Regions from separate parts of the Homo sapiens genome. Here region 2 is linked to region 1. The links are contacts of gene promoters, found by promoter capture Hi-C in blood cells and fetal thymus (Javierre and others, 2016). All regions are on one chromosome and are shown on one strand. Each heading gives the region's core, a stretch centred on a gene start or on the middle of the fragment in contact. The rest is flanking DNA. Distances are from core to core; before and after follow the strand shown.

Evidence for each region. Contacts are between HindIII fragments. The CHiCAGO score rates a contact against its expected background, and 5 or more counts as called.
Region 2: a contact is called between the fragment with the promoter of SLC52A1 here and the fragment with the promoter of C1QBP in region 1, in 3 of 17 cell types (naive B cells, naive CD8 T cells and total B cells). The highest score is 6.4, in naive B cells.

The regions. Positions count from the first base shown.
Region 1 is chr17:5,436,229-5,441,116 of GRCh38, forward strand. It overlaps C1QBP (complement C1q binding protein), which reads right to left and starts at 2,927. Exons shown (of 6, transcript NM_001212.4): 1 at 2,614-2,927; 2 at 1,895-2,045. The coding sequence starts at 2,845. DHX33 (DEAH-box helicase 33) reads right to left here. Exons shown (of 12, transcript NM_020162.4): 12 at 4,689-4,888. RefSeq lists silencers at 2,594-2,643, 2,754-2,923, 2,902-3,084 and an enhancer at 3,144-3,323. The HindIII fragment of the contact is 1,457 bases long and covers 2,035-3,491 here.
Region 2 is chr17:5,032,390-5,037,494 of GRCh38, forward strand. It overlaps SLC52A1 (solute carrier family 52 member 1), which reads right to left and starts at 3,037. Exons shown (of 5, transcript NM_017986.4): 1 at 2,472-3,037; 2 at 2,088-2,324; 3 at 1,090-1,969; 4 at 872-995; 5 at 213-780. The coding sequence starts at 2,217. The coding sequence ends at 568. All of the region lies in intron 3 of LOC105371501 (a long non-coding RNA gene), which reads left to right. The HindIII fragment of the contact is 18,376 bases long and covers 1-5,105 here.

The DNA.
Region 1 (4,888 bases), core at 1,677-4,176:
AGCATTATTTTTAATGGCCCCCAAATAGCTATGAAAACCTTGCGCAAATGGTGTTTAGGTGAGATTACAGAAGACACAATTGACCTGTGTAGGGCAAAAACACACTATGCAACAGGCAAGAGAATCAGGACCCTACTTCACACCATATTCAAAATGAATCACAGACCTAAACTAAGAGCTAAAACTAGAAAACTTTGAAAAAATTAAGGCATACATCTTCACAACCTTGGGTTAGGCAGTGGTTTCTTAGACGTGACACTAAAAAAGCACAAGTTGCACTTGGTGAATTAGAAGCAAAGTAAAAAATAAATAAAAAAGCACAAGCGACCAAAAAAATAGGTAAACTGAACTTCCTCAAAATTAAAAACTTTTGTGTCAGAGGACATTACCAAGAAAGTGAAAAGGAAACCCACAAGATGGGAAACAGTACTTACAAATCATTAATTTGATAAGATAGTTGTACCCAGAAAAACTTAACTTTTACAACCCAACAATTAAAAAGGTAAATAGGGTGGGCAGGGTGGCTCACACCTGAAATCCCAGCACTTTGGGAGGCCAAGGCGGGCGGATCACGAGGTCAGGACTTTGAGACCAGCCTGGCCAACACGGTGAAACCCTGTCTCTACTAAAAATACAAAAATTAACCGGACGCACGCCTGTAATCCCAGCTAAGGAGGCTGAGGCAGGAGAATTGTCAGAACCTGGGAGGCAGAGGTTGCAGTGAGCCAAGATCGCACCACTGCACTCCATCCTGGGTGACAGAGCAAGACTCCGTGGGGTTGGGGGGGGAAGCTACAAATTGTATGACTCCATTTATATGAAATGTCCAAAAGAGGCAATCCCATAGAGAAAGTAGCTTAGTGATTACCTGGGGTGGCTACAGGGAGGAATAATGAGTGACTGCTAATAGGTATTGTTTGGGGATGACAACAGTGTTCTAGAATTAGGTAGTGATAACTGATGCATAATTCTGCGAGGACTAAGAACCACTTAATTTAATAAACTTCAATAAATGGGTAAATCGTATGCCATCTCAATTAAATCTCATAAAAGCTGTGATTTAAAAAAATTACATACACATCATAAGGTCAATTATGAAGGAAATTCAATTTATTTATTTATTATTGAGATGGCGTCTTGCTCTGTTGCCCAGGCTGGAGCGCGGTGGCGCGATCTCGACTCACTGCAACCTCCACCTCCCAGGTTCAAGCGATTCCCCTGCCTCAGCCTCCCGAGTAGCTGGGACTACAGGCACGTGCCACCATACCCGGTTAATTTTTACTAGAGCCAGGGTTTTAGTGTTAGCCAGGATTTTCTCCTGACCTCATGATCTGCCCGTCCCAAAGTGCTGGGATTATGGGTGTGAGCCACCGCGCCCAGGCTCAATTTAAAAACCTGGAAGATGCCAAATGTTTATCTGTGTAATGAGATTATGGATGACTATAATGCAGAAAAGTGTAAACACTTTAACAGTTTAGGAGATGATGGGGGAGCTGACTTAGGTCACAAACTCCCCACCTCTGATGGCAGCCCTTACTACAGTGTAACCCCATCCTGTTACATAGAAGTTACATATTTTTCATTTTCACCCATACTAAACATTAGAGAGCAGTGTCCTATTTTATCAGGGCTGTAAATCAGAGATCAAACTGATTCTGCCAGTACTTTTTTGCACTACATTTTTGTCTCCTTAGTAACCAGCCCACAGCAAATTTGTGTTCGGTGAATGGACTGCCTGGGGCTTACGAAGTTGTCCAAATGAATCCTTCACTCTCTTGAAACCCATTTATCAAAGTATCCACACCTGAACTCAAGGCTCTTCTGGGGATGACCCAGGATGGGTCCTGCAAGGTTAAGGGAGTTGCTGCCCTGGGATCCCCAGACCAGTACTTACTTTTCCCCGGCAACTTTCCGCACTAATTTCGCTTCTGTCCCATTCAGTTCCAGCTCCCAACCTCCAGACATCTTAGGGAGGGTTTTATGCTTCTGAATTTTTCTTTCCTCCTTAATTTCATCACTCAGGAAATCAACAAAAGCTTTGTCTCCTAGAAAAGAAATCCAGATACATAAAAAGGAAAGCCAGTTAGTCTAAAACATAAAACTATTACCCAGGTTATTGCAGCCAGAAACCTGGACTGTTTCTAATCTCTCTGCTATTACGGTTACTCTAGAAGCCTGTTTCCTTATCGGTAAAAATACCATAATAGTAGTAGGAAGCTGAGCCTGATTCTGGAAAAGTGATTTCCAACAATGAACGCATTACCACTTTCCGCTATAAACCAGGAGAATTTCCAATCCTCTTCCACTTGCCAAACGATATAACTATGCTATTTTCAACCACGACCATGGGCCTTCCCAAAGGTCCACTTTCGATAGAATAAGACTAAGGAAAAAGGTACCCTAGTATTTAATTTTATTCACCCCCTACCAAAAGAAAACGAAACTGCTGGATAGGGGAGGTGGGGGAAATATGATCATACGTGGGTTTAGCCCGCTGGTTGCCAATCAATGGAAAAATGTCCCAGACCTCAGAGGTCGGTTGCAGGCCCTATTCCTGGTCTACGTTTTCCCTCTGTTGAACGCAAACCACACCCCCGGCCCGCTAAACCTCACCGTCGGTGTGCAGCGAGCCGCAGCCACAGCCACAGGCGCAGGGTCCGCGAGGCCGCAGGAGGCCCGGCCGCCGCTCGGAACCTGCGCGCACGCTGAGCAGCCCGAAGGGCCGGGTGCACAGCCGGGGTGCCGGCTGCAGGAGCTGCCGGAAAGGCGAGGCGGGCGCGGCAGCGCGGAGGCCGGCGACGGAGGAGCCCAGCACACGGGGCACGCAGCGCAGCAGAGGCAGCATCGCGGAAACGACTGCGAACACGTGCAGATGCAAAGGACAACCCAGGCCTAGGCGCCCCGCGACCTGAGGCGCCGCCGGAAGCCCCGCCCCTGCCCGGAAGCGCTTCCCGCGCCGGCGCTCTGACGACCTAAGGCCAGCGGGCGGAATCGCGCCCTCTGCTGGAGACTCCGGTGCAGCCCGGGAAGCCTCGAATCCGGATTCCGGAGCTTTCTTGCTGCGCTGCCGAGTCCGCTGTCCGAAGCTGTTTAATTCCCTCTAGTGGCCGCTTACCCACTTTCCACCTGCTGTTCTCAAAGCACGCAAGGCTTTTGGGCTGCGTGGAATGCACTCTTGTCTCCCGCCAGCTCTCACCAGACCCTTCCACGGTCACTTTCCTCTAGGAGGCTGTGGTGTTATGATATATATATGTATTGGTTTTCATCCACAGTTCCTGGGTCGTAACTCCTATAGCCCTTGTTACAATGTTCTGTGATAATGTTGGGTGTGTTAGGCCTCAGGAAACAGACTCTCCCCTTCTCCTGCCCTCCTTTTACCTGCCCCAAAGCAGGACTCTAATCTCCTTCCACATTTCTGATTATGGGTCTTAAGTCCCTTCCCAGAGAAGGTCCCACCATATACCCTGGGGGAAGGGATGCTGATGTCCAGAAGCTTCCATAAAAACCCAAGAGGAGAGGGTTTGCAGAGCCTCTGACAGCTGAATACGTAGAGGTTCCTGGAGGGTGGTGGCCCAGGGTAGGCAAGGAACCTCGGAGCTTCTTCCCCATTCCCCACCCTGCTCATCTCATCTGTATCCTTGGTCATATCCTTTATATGAAACCGGTGAATGTGTTTCCCTGAGTTCTGTGAACTGCTCCAGTGAGTTAACATAATCCAAAGAGGGGGGTCGTGGGAACCCCAACTTGAAGCGGGTTGGTCGGAAGTTTCAGAGGCCCAGACTTGCCATTGCTGTCTGAAGGTGGGGGCGGTCTTGGGGACTGAGCCCTCAACCTATGGGATCTGACACTATCTCCAGGTAGATACTGTTGGGATTGAATTGGAGGACACCCAGCTGGTGTCTGCTGCTTAGTGTGGAGGGGAAAAACCCAAACCTTTGGCCACATAAGTCTTCTGTGTTGATTGTTGTGTTGTGAGAGCAAAGGAAAGTCTGAGGGTTTTCCTGAAAGAGGCCTTCTAGAACCTTTTTTTCCACCGGCTCGGAACTCATGCTTGTGCGCACCCAGCCCATATGCTTCATTCTCTTTTCAACAGGAACCTCCTAGCGTTGCTGCTTTAACCAGGTTAAACCCAACCAGACTGTGACATCCTCAAGGGCAGGATCCATGATTAATTTTTGTGACCTTCCCTCTCTGCACCTCCAACCTTGCATCCAAGTTCTAATGGAACATCATTTTTCTGGGGACAAGAAGCCAGCTTATATCATTTAGATAAGTCCAGAGGCTTCCATAAAAACCCGAGGACAGGGTTTGGAGAGCCTCTGATAGCTAAATACATGGAGGTTCCTGGAGGGTGGTGGTCCAGGGACGGCATGGAGGCTGGGAGCTTCTTCCCCATTCCCCACCCTGCTCATCTCCTTATCTGTATCCTTGGTCATATCTTTTGTATGAAACCGGTAAATGTGTTTCCCTGAGTTCTGTGAGTTTCTCCAGTAAATTAATATAACCCAAAGACAGGGTTCAGATTTATTAAAAATCAACAATCCTACCTTCCCAGGATATACAGGACATATAAGCTACTAAGAAGGTATGTCTTACTAACTCATGGTAAGACTAACACTTAATATTTTCTAAATAATTTTCTATGAATAATGGAAAAGAGATGCAAGAAACAAGCCACACACATCATATACAAGATTCATTTTTAATGGATTTGATCGTCGGGTGCAAATTTGAGCATTATTTACAAGAGCTTTCTGTAGAGTTATTTCTGTTCAAATAAAACCAGACTCTCAAAATACAACATAAGCCTGAACCTACTTGATTTTTTTTTCTCCCTCTAGTTACCAAGGAATATCGTATCTCAGATGCATGGCCTACTATCACACTG
Region 2 (5,105 bases), core at 1,787-4,286, 400 kb before region 1:
GTTGCAGTGAGCCGAGATTGCACCACTGCACTCCAGCCTGAGCAACAGAGTGAGACTCCGTTGTCTTTAAAGGCCAATCCCATAGCAAATGACAGAGACTCACTTGAGTAAGAAAGGTTTTTGACAAGAAAACCCACAGAAGAAGAGATAAGCTGTGGATATAAGAAAGGCACTACAATCTGTATTTAAATCTAATTGCACACTAGATAATATATGTATGAAAAATTATTTAATCCAGTTTCCTGATTTCATTATATATTTCTTATAAGGTTTTCATTAGGCTTTTGTTTTTGTTTTTGGTTTTAAATAAAAACACTTTATTGCACAAATCCCACAAAGGTCTCAGGCCCTGGGTCCAAGCCCACAGCCCCAACCTGTCCCCTGGCTCTGGGCCTGGTCTTTGGTGCCCACCCTGGCCTCACATGCCAACGTCTTCTGTGGAGTGTGCAGGTGTCCATGAGCGTTCCTGTGTTGGGGGAAGCCTGCCTGGGCCACAAGTAGTCAGGCACTGTGGCAGCCTCACGATGAAGACAGGTGGGGTGGAGTTGGGTCCCCACCTGCCCAGGCTCAGGGGCCACAGGGGTCTACACAGTCCTTTCTGCTTTGAAACACGTGGTAGATGCTGGTGGGAGGGAACATGGCACCGGCACCAAGCAGGGAGCCCACTTGGATGGCCACACCAGCTGCCAGCAATGCCGGCCGACCCCCACCATGCAGCAGGGAGCTTGCAGCCACCTTCACATATGAGAACACACACAGACACAGCACCCACGACAGCACCTGCAAGGGAGGACACAGCAGCAGGCTGAGCATGACATGCACTTGCTCCAGGGGACACCCTCCTCCCCACTTCATGTCTCCACTTGCTCACCACAAGGACCACCCCTGCAGTGGTGCCCACCAGGGGTGGGCAGGGGCTCAGGATTGCCAGTGCCATCAGGTAGGCCCCAAAGAGCATGCCCAGCAGAGAAAGACCAACCAGCCCTGCCAGGGACCTGTTGGGGATGAGCAGAGACTCAGGGCTGGCTGTTCTGGGACCTGGACCCCAACCTTAAGTTCCACCCACCAAGCCTGGGGACCCTTTTGCACCTGCACAGCACGCCCATGGCCAGGAAGCAGGCAAGGGGGTTGGCGGCACTGCCCAGCACCACAGCCAGGTGGTAGGCCAGGCGCCCATAGGGCAAACAGGAAAAGCTCTGCACAGAAGGCAGCACGCCATTGGTCACGGCACTGGTGAAGGCCATCAGGCCCAGCAGGAAGGCACCATGGGCTGAGAACAGCTGATGGGCCTCAGGGTCTGGGCCAGGGATGGTGCCTGCTGCCTGGCTCGGTGGCTCCTGCAATGGCAAAGCCTCTTCTTCCTCCTTCTCTTCCTCCTCTGCTCCTGGGGATCCCAGTTGAAGTTCAGGCCCTGAGCCCCCTGTGGTTACAGAGGGTAGTGATGGCAACAGCAACAGGAGACCCCGGAAGGCGGCAGCTGAAGTGACCAGAAGGGCAGTCAGTGCCCAGAAGAAGGTGCTGGCAGGAAAACGCTCAGGGAAGTCGAGGGGAGGCCCAGAGGTGCCATTGGTGGGCGCTGGTGGGCACTCGAGGCGGCCCACACCTTGCACTAGGGCCAGCACACAGGGGAGTAGGGCACTGAGACCCTGACCCAGGAAGAAAGACCGTAAGAAAGGAGGTGGCAGGTGGCTCAGGAAGGGCAGGAAAGTGACATTAGAGGTACAACAGGCCATTGCCAACACCAAGGCCAGAGTTAGGAAGGCCACAGAGTGGAGCTGCCCTGCCACTGGGGCCACGTGGTGCCACAGAGGGGCCAGCAGGGCTGTGCCCACTACACTCAGCACCTGTACCACCTGGATGGGGACCTGCTCGCCCTTGCCCGGGGCCAGCTGCCTCCACAGGGTCACCACCAGCAGACCCAGGTTTCCCAGCGCCACAACCACAGAGAGGTATGAGGGGAGGCTCCAACCTGCAGGGAAGGAATGATGCCATGTCAGGAGCACAGTGGCTAAGGGACAAAGAGCTGCCACAGGCCACCTTTCTGGGCATACCTGCCCCACGCTTCCCTGTACCTCCCTCCCACTCACCCTCTGGAAGGTCTTTTACCACCACAGGCAGCTCCACCCAGATCCCGTTCACAGCAGCCCAGGAGCCCATGCCAAAAAGGGCCACCAGCAGGTGGGTCAGCACCAGACGGCCCAGCGTGGGTGCTGCCATTCAGCCCAAAGCTGGACCCTCCAGGACAGGGCAAAGGTCACAGGCAGGTCCTTCCCTAGGTAGGTCCAAAGATGCTTTGGTTCTTCTGGAAACTGAAGACCTTCTAGCTGGAGGGAAACAGACAGGCTGGCAGGTAATAGGCTGGTGGGACAGAACCGGAGTCAGAAGACAAGTCGGTCAGACTGCTAAGACCAGGGCAACTGGAGGGAGAGGTGGCCGGGGGCGGGCGGGGAAGGTGGGGAGCCAGGACTTACCACGGGGCACCGGCTGTGCGTTTGGGTACAGCGACCCAGCAGTGCCGGCAGGCAGACAGGCAGAAAGCTGGCCCGAGGTGCAGCTGCCCCAGAGGAGCAAAGAGGGAGCTGATTTTCCTACCCACAGAGGACCCGGGGTCCAAGTTGTCAAAACAGCTCAGCACTGGCCGGGTGCGGTGGCTCACACCTGTAATCCCAGCACTTTGGGAAGCTGAGGAAGGCAGATCGCCTGAGGTCAGGAGATTGAGACCATCCTGGCCAACATGGTGAAAACCCGTCTCTACTAAAAATACAAAAATTAGCTGGTCGTGGTGGTGGGTGCCAGTAATCCCAGCTACTCAGGAGGCTGAGGCAGGAGATTCACTTGAACCCGGAAGGTGGAGGTTGCAGTGAGCCAAGATCACACCACTGCATTCCAGCCTGGGCGACAGAACGAGATTCGGTCTCAAAAACAAAACAAAACAAAACAAAACAAAAAAACAGCTCGGCACCAACACGCTCACCCTCAAATGGACCCCGGGACAAGGGCACGTCTCTGGTGCCACTTGCAACCCTAGCGCTTTTGCGACACTCAGGACTTGCTGAGGCAGGTCGAGTTGGAGAGGGGAGTGGCTGGGGCGGGCTCTGCCCGGAGGGGCGTCTCCGTGCTGCCCTCCCGCCTGCCTCAGGGGGGCATCCCGGGAGCCGCCAGGTGCGCAGGGGTCCCCGCACCTCCGGATCCGGCAGTCCCCGGACCCAGCGGCTGGCGGTCTGCCTGAGAGGGAGCCCCCTCCGCCGGGGAGGCGGCCCAGCCCAGAGCCCACACAGCTGGGGTTTTGTTGTTTGTTGTTTTAATTAATTAATTAATTTTGAGACGGGGTCTCACTCTGTCACCCAGGCTAGAGCGCAGCGGTGCGCGATCGCGGCTCACTACAGCCTCAACCTCCCAAGCTCAAGGGATCCTCCCACTCAGCCTCTCCCCACCCCCCCACAAGTAGCTGGGACCACAGGCGAGCATCACCATGTCCAGCTAATTTTTTTTTTTTTTTTTTTTTTTTTTGGTAGAGACAAGGTCTCACTATGTTGCTCAGGCTGGCTTGGCACTCCTGGGCTCAAGCAATCTTCCTACCTCAGCCTCCCAAGTAGCTGGGACTACAGACGCACCACACCTAGCTACCGCCACGCTCAGCTGTTTTTACACTTTTTTTTTTTTTTTTTTTTTTTGAGACGGAGTTTTGCTCTTGTTGCCCAGGCTGGAGTGCAATGGCACGAGCCTCTGCCTCCCGGGTTCAAGCCATTCTCCTGCCTCAGCCTCCCGAGTAGCTGGAATTACAGGCGCCCACCACCATGCCCTGCTAATTTTTGTCTTTTTAGTGCACAGGGTCTCGCCATGTTAGCTAGGCTGGTCTTGAACTCCTGACCTCAGGTGATCCACCTGCCCCGGCCTCCCAAAGTGTTGGGGATTACAGGCGTGAGCCACCGTGCCTGGCCAGCTGTTTTTACACTTTTAAATGGTTGAAAAAAAATTAGCTGGACGTGGTGTGCACACCTGGCTAATTTTTGCTTTTTTTTTTTTTTTTTTTTTTTTTTGAGACGGAGTCTCGCTCTGTCGCCCAGGCTGGAGTGCAGTGGCGCGATCTCGGCTCACTGCAAGCTCCACCTTCCAGGTTCACGCCATTCTCCTGCCTCAGACTCCCGAGTAGCTGGGATTACAGACGCCTGCCACCACGCCTGGATAATTTTTGTATTTTTCGTAGAGATGGGGTTTCACCATATTGGCCAGGCTCGTCTCGAACTCCTGACCTCAGGTGATCCGCCCGCCTCAGCCTCCCAAAGTGCTGGGATTACAGGCGTGAGCCACCATGTCTGGCCCTTTAATGATATTTTGTACTTGTTTACTCACTGACCATCTCAGGGATTACCCTGACCTACTACCCATTTTTGTATGGCCTGCTAGCTAAGACAGGTTTTCACATATTTATTTATTTATTTTTATTACTATTTTTGAGAAAGTGTCTTCCTCAAAAGGAAGTGCAGTAGCACAATCACAGCTCACTGCAGCCTCAAATACCTGGGCTCAAGGATCCTCCCACCTCAGCCTCCTGAGCAGCTGGGACTACAAGCACATGCCACCACGTCCAGCTGTTTTTACATTTTTAAATGGTTGGAAAAAAAAATCAATATCTGTAGTCCCAGCTACTCAGGCGTCTGAGGTGAGAGCATCCCTTGAGCACAGGAGGTCAAGGCTGCAATGAGCCATGATTGTGCCAATGTACTCCAGCTTGGGTGACAGTGAGACCCTGTCTAAAACCAAAACAAAACAAAAAACAAAGAAAACAAAAGAATCGTATTTCCTAACCCGTGAAAACTAAAAGCATATGAAATTTAAATTTCGGTAGGCCAGGCGTGGTGGCTCACGCCTGTAATCCCAACACTTTGGGAGGCCGAGGCGGGCTGATCACCTGAGATCAGGAGTTCAAGACCAGCCTGGCCAACATGGTGAACCCCGTCTCTACTAAAAATACACAAATTAGCTGGGTATGGTGGCGGGCGCCTGTAATCCCAGCTACTCGGGAGGCTGAGATATGAGAATCGCTTGAACCAGGGAGGTGGAGGTTGCAGTGAGCTGAGCTTGTGCCACTGCAGTCCAGTCGA